Regions from separate parts of the Homo sapiens genome. Here region 2 is linked to region 1. Evidence: promoter capture Hi-C in 16 types of primary human blood cells and fetal thymus (Javierre and others, 2016). All regions are on one chromosome and are shown on one strand. The core of a region is centred on a gene start or on the middle of the fragment in contact, and the rest is flanking DNA. Distances in the headings are between cores, read along the strand shown.

Region 1 (4,428 bases), core at 1,775-4,274:
ATATACTATATTTTGCAACTTCCTGTAAGTCTTTTCTAACTATTTCAGACAAAAAGTTTAAAAAACAAAAAAAAAGACCCTAAAAATAGACAGGTATCTAGGTTGGAGGTTTCATAAATATGTAGAGAAAAACACAGAAGTAAAAACTTATCACTTGGCAACATGGGAAAACCCCATCTCTACAAAAAAATACAAAAAGTTAGCCGGGTGTGGTGGTACATGCCTATAGTCCCACTTACTTGGGGGCGGGGGGGGGGGGGGGTGACACTGAGGCAGGAGGATCACTTGAGCCCAGGAGGTTGAGGATGCAGTGAGCCCTGACTGTGCCACTGCACTCCGGCATGGGCTACAGGGTGAAACCCTGTCTCAAAACAAAAACAACTTATCACCTGCACATTTCTATCACGTATTCTCCAAAGGTAATACATACATCATTGAGATGTTCCCCAAAGGCAGCATCATGTTTAATAAACACTGAAAACTGTTCTTAAAAAGGAGTGGCACCCGTATTAACATTCTTCTGTAGCCATAGATCAACTAATTAGAAATGAAATAAAGTATCAGAAAAGATGAAAAAGGGGAGCTTCGTAGAATCATGGGCTGTGAAGATCCTTTCCTCAGCTTCACACAAACAGCATGTTTTCCCCACCCAAAATTACCATAATATACTTGAAGAGTCACATACAGCCCCCCTGAAGGGAAATCACTACAAAGATAATAGAGTACTTAATACTTACCTCAAAATATTTTTTCTCAATTTCTGGATTTTTCCCCATTGTTCGTTGTTCATAACAACATATAATACAAGTTTCAAATCCGCTGATATCTTTTAGAGTTTTCAGCAATGGCTCCAAAGACTATTTAAAAAAGAATATATTTTTTGTTTTTGATTTAAAAATTTTTCTACTCTAAAAGTAGGTTGAGGAGGTACAGGGGTATTTATAGCTCCCCTACAATTTATCCATCTTTGAATCAATCCAACAAAGCACATGTAATTAAAGCTCTAGGCTAGGTGCAGTGGCTCACACCTGTAATATCAACACTTTGGAAGGCAGAGGTGGAAAGATCGCTTGAAAGCAGGAGTTGAAGACCAGCCTGGAGAATACAGCGAGAGACAAACCACCCCCCGCAACACCTTACAAAAAATTTAAAAATTAGCCAGCATGCTGGTGCACACCTATAGTCCCAGCTATTGAGGAGGCTGAATGGGAGGATTACTTGAGCCTCAGGAGCTCGAGGTTACAGTGAGCTATGATCACTCCACTGCACTACAACATGTGTGACAGAGCAAGACCCCTATCTTAAAACAAAAACAAACAAACAAAAACCCCTCTGTAACTAATGATTGGGTAAGCTCCTGTTAACTAAACCATGTACTGATTTTGGTTTCCAGAAAAAGGATTCAGATGACTGCATTTTGGAGTTCTCATGGGAAACAAATGGAATCAACCTTACTCTTAAAAGTTTAATTTTATTTAATCTAATTTGGGATTTAAATAATCAACGATTTCCCTACAAAAGTTAAATCTGACCCTAACTTGGTTCAATGCTAATTATTTTTAAAATAATCGATGCCCACAACACTATACAAACTGATGTTTTTTTTTTTTTTTTTTTTTTTTGAGACAGAGTTTTGCTCTTGTTGCCCAGGCTGGAATGCAATGGCATGATTTCGGCTCACTGCAACCTCCGCCTCCCAGGTTCAAGCGATTCTCCTGCCTCAGACTCCCAAATAGCTAGGATTACAGACATGCACCACCACGCCTGGCTAATTTTGTATTTTTAGTAGAGACAGGGTTTTGCCATGTAGGTCAGGCTGGTCTCGAACTCCCGACCTCAGGTGAGCCACCTGCCTTGACCTCCCAAGTGTTGGGATTACAGGCGTGAGCCACCGCGCCCGGCCCAAACTGGTATTTAAAGAAAAGAACAATGAATTATTTATAACTTAATTCTCAATGTCATGGTTAACATGTTCCGTGGGAACAACCAAGGGAAAAAGAGAGGATTTTGGCTTTTCATAACATCCAATTGGCAAAATCCTTTAAAATTTTTACAGAAGCCTCTAGTAAAATGCATATAACACTTTTCTCAACATGCTTCACCAGGTCGGTATGATAATGATGAGCGTATATACATATGGTCCCTGGTGACTTTTATCTTCTCTTTACTGCATCAACTATAAGGCAAATCCCGGATTCAAAGATGTTAAAATGTGAAGAAACGTGTGCTTTAGAATTCATGGAATAAGGTTCATCTTCTAAGTGAAGAGACTTCGCTCACTGGATACTTACCTCTTCATAGTATATGCAGTCGGCCATCAGTATGAAGTCGGGTGGAGAAGGAAAGCCTTCTATTTCTTCCCCCCTTAAAAATGCCAAACAAATATTTCAATTGTTTTAATAATTCAAAATACTCTTGTTTTATAAAGAACCGGAAAGTCCCCTTCCATCCTTTTAATGAAACGCAATTCAAAACAAACTACAAATCAATATCTTAAAACAAGCTGAAAGGCCATACAAACCATTTCAGTACCTTGGCTTGAACAGAACCAGTGACAAGATGCTTGTTCATATTAATATTCATCTTCAGCAAGTCTTGCAATTCCTCAAGATCGGTGACTACAACATCAGCCCTATAAAATAACGTCGACTGAGGTGTAGGCACAGGGGGGAAAGCCTGTAATCCGGATTTCCCCAGCAAGAAGGCGCCCCCACATCCCGCCCGCCCGCCAGCTCTTACCCGAGGGTAGCAGCCATGAGCCCCACGGCCCCGGTGCCCGAACCCAGCTCCAGCACCGACCGCCGGCTCAGCGCGTGGGCCCCGTCGCCAGAAAACTCGGGCGTTTCCAGGTATTTAGAAAGGACAATGGCAGCGTCCCACACAACGCAACCCACGCCACCGGAGCTATACTGCTGTAGTCGTAGCACTGTACCATCCCGCTTCTCCAAAACTCGCACAAAGCTCCGCAGTGGGTCCTCCAGCGAGGACTCCAGCGTATCCGCCATTGCGCCCGGCAACAGAAAGCGGCGCGCGCAGGGACGTCACATCAACGCGCACCGCCCCGCCCTGCGGCTCCGCCCCCTGCCCGCCGCTGAGTTGGCGACGCAGCGCGCGCGAGTTAACAAAGCCCGGAAGGCAGCGTTACCTGGGCGGGGCCGAGCGTGGGGCCCCTGCTTACCCGACGCGCTTGGCAGCCTCCCTCTACCCTAAATCACACGTTTGGCTTAACGAAGAGGCCGTTTAAATCACTTTCCCAGACAAAACTATTATAATCTGCTCTTTAAAAAACAAAGCCAACCTCAGAGTTTACCAAGTTGGACACTTGATTTACATAGTAGTTACAAGGCTTAAATGCAATCAGCTTCCAAGATCCTACCAAAGATGGCTATAATCTTACAATCTTCCTTTTCAAGTTCCTAGTATGCTCCTAGTTTTTTGTATGAATTCATAAAAGTGGTTGCTAGAAGCCTGCAGCTCACATTTAACAGTGAAGAAAAAATTGTGTGTGTGTGTGTGTGTGTCTATAGGACTCAACAATCTCCCCCTTTGTTCCTTATAATGAAAACACATATTTTAAAAGTCTTTTAAAAATTAAGACTGGGGTGATTTATTAATCTTGTTAAGAACTCTGATACAAAGCACAGTAAAAGGCCACAAACCAGTAAATAAACAACGTGGCTTTTGGCTACTTTACAACTGCTGCTACAGCACTATCAGCAAAACACTCTATCACTTTGAACGAAGGCATCCAAATGGCAAATAAAAGCTTTACTCACTTATCTGATTAAAATGTTTAATAAAGCTTTAAGTATTTGCTGGTTTAAATATTACCAATCTAAAAAATATATTTAAAAAAAATTTCAGTTAACACGAGATTTATAGAGAAAGTTACTAGGTCTTGAAGGCAAGGCAGTTGGTTCCTATGCCATAGAATTTTTTTTGAATTTATGAATTAGTAAAGTAGCAGATTGTATTATAGGCCTCAAGTCACTTAAATTTATATAGGTTATTAGCAGTATCTTTAAATATACAATATAAACAAAACTGTACATACATGGCATATTAACTGTTTTCCATAACAATAGGCAATTCATTAGCTAAAGACGTCATAGTCTGCAAAAACAAAAGGCACATCTGAATGAGATACATGCCCTTTTTCCCTCCATCATTGGGTTATGTAGTCTTTGTTTACATTTTGACAAAATAATAAACACTTACAGTGCCATTCTATTATTTTCATCCTACTTTTCATTTTTGTCTTCAGCAGCAAATACCGGCATTTAAGACATGGCATTAAAGAGTTTAAGAACAGTTGGTGTTATTCACAATTCTCCTAGATGTAAAAACTAGAAGTAAAAACTAGAAGATGGTCAAAGAGGTTTAAAAATCAGTAACACCATATACCCCTCCCATATTTGTGTAAATTCA
Region 2 (3,988 bases), core at 232-2,731, 510 kb before region 1:
ATGACCGACGTCTTCCTTATATGCTTCTCGGTGGTAAATCCAGCCTCATTTCAAAATGTGAGGGAGGAGTGGGTACCGGAACTTAAGGAATACGCACCAAATGTACCCTTTTTATTAATAGGAGCTCAGATTGATCTCCGAGATGACCCCAAAACTTTAGCAAGACTGAGTGATATGAAAGAAAAACCTATATGTGTGGAACAAGGACAGAAACTAGCAAAAGAGATAGGAGCATGCTGCTATGTGGAATGTTCAGCTTTAACCCAGAAGGGATTGAAGACTGTTTTTGATGAGGCTATCATAGCCATTTTAACTCCAAAGAAACACACTGTAAAAAAAAAAGAATAGGATCAAGATGTATAAACTGTTGTTTAATTACGTGAGAAACATCTTCAGTGGCCAAGGAAACTGTCCATTTCTCTCAGAAAGCAAATGAAATGCTGCAGCTATACCCAGACCTTTTATAGGTAATGAAGCAGTTCAAAACTTGAAAGAAAACAAAACCTGTCCTCAGAATTCTGTAAAGTTTATTAAGAATGTTCCTTAAAGATTTAAGAAGCAGTAAGCAGCATCTGAAGCCACAATCTATTATAAATACTTTATTTCAACTAGAAGGTACAATCTCTCAGGGGTTTCATAGTTTAAAAAGCTACAATCACATCATGTTGTAACTACATAAAAAACAGAGCTGTAGATGGAACTGCTTGGCTTTGACCATACACATTTCTGCACAGCCCTTACAGAATCTGCACAAAGAAATATCTCCCTTTTCTCCAGTTAATTGTTCTTGTATGTAAGTTGCTTTCTATTCCAGCATACCCAGAGTGGTGAAATAACAAGGCCAGCCACGTAGCCAAAGGTCGCTCCAAGCGTACAGGAGATGGGCCATACCTGAGGAGAGAATGTATGAGATCAAAAAAGAACAAATGTTTTATTACTTGAGCACAAGTGTAACCTAAATATTTCTATATTAAAGCTTAATGTGCTTTCTTAAAAAAAATCAGGTCACAGCATCCTGCACTTGCCTTGTCTTGATATTTGTTATGCTTATAAGTACTTGTTTAATAACTATCTCTCATCAGATTGTCAACTCTTTAAGTGTAGTTACCCTGTCAGTCTTATTCATTGCTATGTCCCAAGCCCCTATTAGAGTACCTGGTACATAGTGGGTTCTGAATCAATAGTTGTTGAAATCTAAAGCAGATGCAACAGCAATCATTAATTTTTTTTAAATTTTAAATATGCCATTTATATAGATGATAATCATTAAATTTTTTTTGAGCACTCATTATGTGTCAGTCATCGTTCTAGCACTCAGGATAGAATAGCAAAGGAGACAAGATTCCTGCTCTCATGGAGTTTGTATATAACCTACTGGGAGGTGTGCCCACCCCAGGCTAATGGACTGAAGTTATGAAGGCAAGTAACTGCTATTGGCAACTCTTCCTACAGTTACATAGTTGGAATGGGAGAAAAGGAGCATTCTCTCAAAACATGGTGATCCTGTTCTCAAAGGAGAGTTACTGGACAGACAGAGCAGTAACATCCACCACCAGCTAGATGAGGAGTATAACTTCCCAACTGCTAAAAAAAAAAAAAAAAAAAAAAACTTTAAAACTTGGCCACGCGCCGTGGCTCATGCCTGTAATCCCAGCACTTTGGTAGGCCCAGGCAGGCAGATCACTTGAGGCCAGGAGTTCTAGACCAGCTTGGCCAACATGATGAAACCGTGTTTCTACTAAAAATACAAAAATTAGCCGGGCATGGTGGCACGCACCTGTAATCCGAGCTACTCAGGAGGCTGAGTCATGGGAATTGCTTGAACCTGGGAAGTGGAGGTTGCAGTGATGGCACCACTTCACTCCATCCTGGGTGAGAGTGAGTGAGACTCTGTCTCAAAAAAAAACAACTTTTTTTTTTTTTTTTTTTTTTTTTTTGAGAAGGAGTCTCTTTCTGTTGCCCAGCCTGGAGTGCAGTGGCGTGATAAAAAGCTTTAAAACTTAAAATGAAAACACTCAGACTCAAGGACTAAAAGCCAAACCAAAGCCTGGCAAAGTAACTGGCACATTCTAGTTGTAATAAATGTTACTGAGTAACAATAATTAGTTTTCTTCTTTTTTTTCTATTGGTTTTATGCAGCTAAGGGAGAACATTGAGCAATTCTTCACCAAATTTGTAGATGAGGGGAAAGCCACTGTTCGGTTAAAGGAGCCTCCTGTGGATATCTGTCTAAGTAAGGTATGGTATTAAAAACATTAATGATTAATATTTGGCTGTATTTTCTTTATTTTTTAGAAACAGAGTCTTGTTCTGTCACCCAAGCTGAAGTACAGAGGCATAGTCATAGCTCACTGCATCAAACACCTAGGCTCAAGCGAGCCTCCTGAATATCTGGGACTAAAGGTGTACCTCACCACTCCCGGATAAATTTTTAAAATAACTTTTTGTAGAGACGGAGTCTTGATATGATGTTGCCCAGACTGGCCTTGAACTCCTGGCCTCAAGCGATCCTCTTGCCTCAGCCTCCCAAAGTGTTGGGATTATAAGCATGAGCCACCATACTTGGCCTGGCGTGTATTTGCTTGCTTGCTTGCTTTTTTTGTTTGTTTGTTTGTTTGTTTTGAGACGGAGTTTTGCTCTTGCTGCCCAGGCTGGAGTGTAGTGGCACGATCTCAGCTCACTGCAACCTCCATCTCCCGGGTTCAAACAATTCTCCTGCCTCAGCCTCCCGAGTAGCTGGGATTACAGACACCCACCACCATGCGTGGCTGATTTTTTTTTTTTTTTTATCTTTAGTAGAGACAGGGTTTCACCATGTTGACCAGGCTGGTCTTGAACTCCTGAACTCAGGCGATCCACCCACCTCAGCCTTCCAAAATGCTGGGATTACAGGCGTGAGCCACTGTGCTCAGCCTGGCCTGTATTTTCTTTAAAGAAGGCTGTTTGCACATTCTGCTATCCCATATAGCCGAATAGGGACAGACTCTTGCAGGTTTTTTGAAGAGGCAATGGCACAAGAGGCAGCTTCCCAAATATGCTTGTGTGCCTTCTAAAAGGGCAAAGTCTGCCTCAGTAAGATTCCCAGGATGGGAAGAAAACTGGGTTTGCTTCTGTGCTCAAGATGGAGCCCTAGGGTGTTCTTTGACTGGAACTCTATAAGGCAACTGCACAGGTCTACATTTTGCCAGCTAAACCACAGGTTACAAATCTAAGTTTGTTGTAATAAAAGAGGAAAAAATTCAATTAGAACCATCTTGTATTTTATTTACTGTAATCATTCTTTCTTCTTCTTCTTTTTTTTTTTTTTTTTTTTTTTTTGAGATGGAGTCTCATTCTGTCACCCAGGTTGGAGTGCAGTGGGAAGAGCTTGGTTCACTGCAACCCACAGGTGGGTGCCACCACTCCTGGCGAATTTTTGTCTACTGTGCCTGGCCCTTACTGTAATCATTCCTTTTTTTTTTTTTTTTTTTTTTTTTTTAATGAGACAGAGTCTCTCCCTGTCACCCAGGCTGGATTACAGTGGCGTGATCTCAGCTCACTGCAACCTCCACCTCCCGGGTTCAAGCGATTCTCCTGCCCCAGCCTCCCAGTAGCTGGGATTACAGGCACGTGCCGCCATGCCCAGCTAATTTTTTGTATCTTTAGTAGAGACGGGTTTCACCATGTTGGCCCGGCTGGTCTCAAACTCCTGACCTCGTGATCCGCCCACCTTGGCCGCCCAAAGTGCTGGGATTATAGGCATGAGCCACCGTGCCCGGACTGTAATCATTCTTATAAAAATATAAACTGAGGCTGGGTGCCATAGCTCACACCTGTAATCCCAGCACTTTGGAAGGCCAAGACTGGTGGATCACTTGCTCTCAGGAGTTCAAGACCAGCCTGGGCAACATGGTGAAACCCTGTCTCCACAAAAAAAAAAAAAAAAATTAGCCAGGCGTGGTTTTCACACCTGTGGTGCCAGCTACTTGGGAGCCTGAGGTGGGAGGAT

Evidence for each region. The method cuts DNA at HindIII sites, captures the fragments that hold promoters and counts their contacts. A CHiCAGO score of 5 or more calls a contact.
Region 2: a fragment that was not itself captured here is called in contact with the fragment with the promoter of VCPKMT in region 1 in 5 of 17 cell types (fetal thymus, total CD8 T cells, total CD4 T cells and 2 more); the score reaches 7.5 in fetal thymus.

What each region holds. Positions count from the first base shown.
Region 1 is chr14:50,113,548-50,117,975 of GRCh38, forward strand. It overlaps VCPKMT (valosin containing protein lysine methyltransferase), which reads right to left and starts at 3,025. Exons shown (of 6, transcript NM_024558.3): 1 at 2,740-3,025; 2 at 2,522-2,632; 3 at 2,292-2,364; 4 at 738-857. The coding sequence starts at 3,005. SOS2 (SOS Ras/Rho guanine nucleotide exchange factor 2) reads right to left here. Exons shown (of 23, transcript NM_006939.4): 23 at 3,583-4,428. RefSeq lists an enhancer at 2,962-3,021. The HindIII fragment of the contact is 15,614 bases long and covers 1-3,764 here.
Region 2 is chr14:49,600,231-49,604,218 of GRCh38, forward strand. LRR1 (leucine rich repeat protein 1) reads left to right here. Exons shown (of 4, transcript NM_152329.4): 2 at 2,140-2,238. It also overlaps the pseudogene RHOQP1. Among named protein-coding and RNA genes, the nearest start is that of LRR1, 3.3 kb to the left of the region's middle. The HindIII fragment of the contact is 1,015 bases long and covers 975-1,989 here.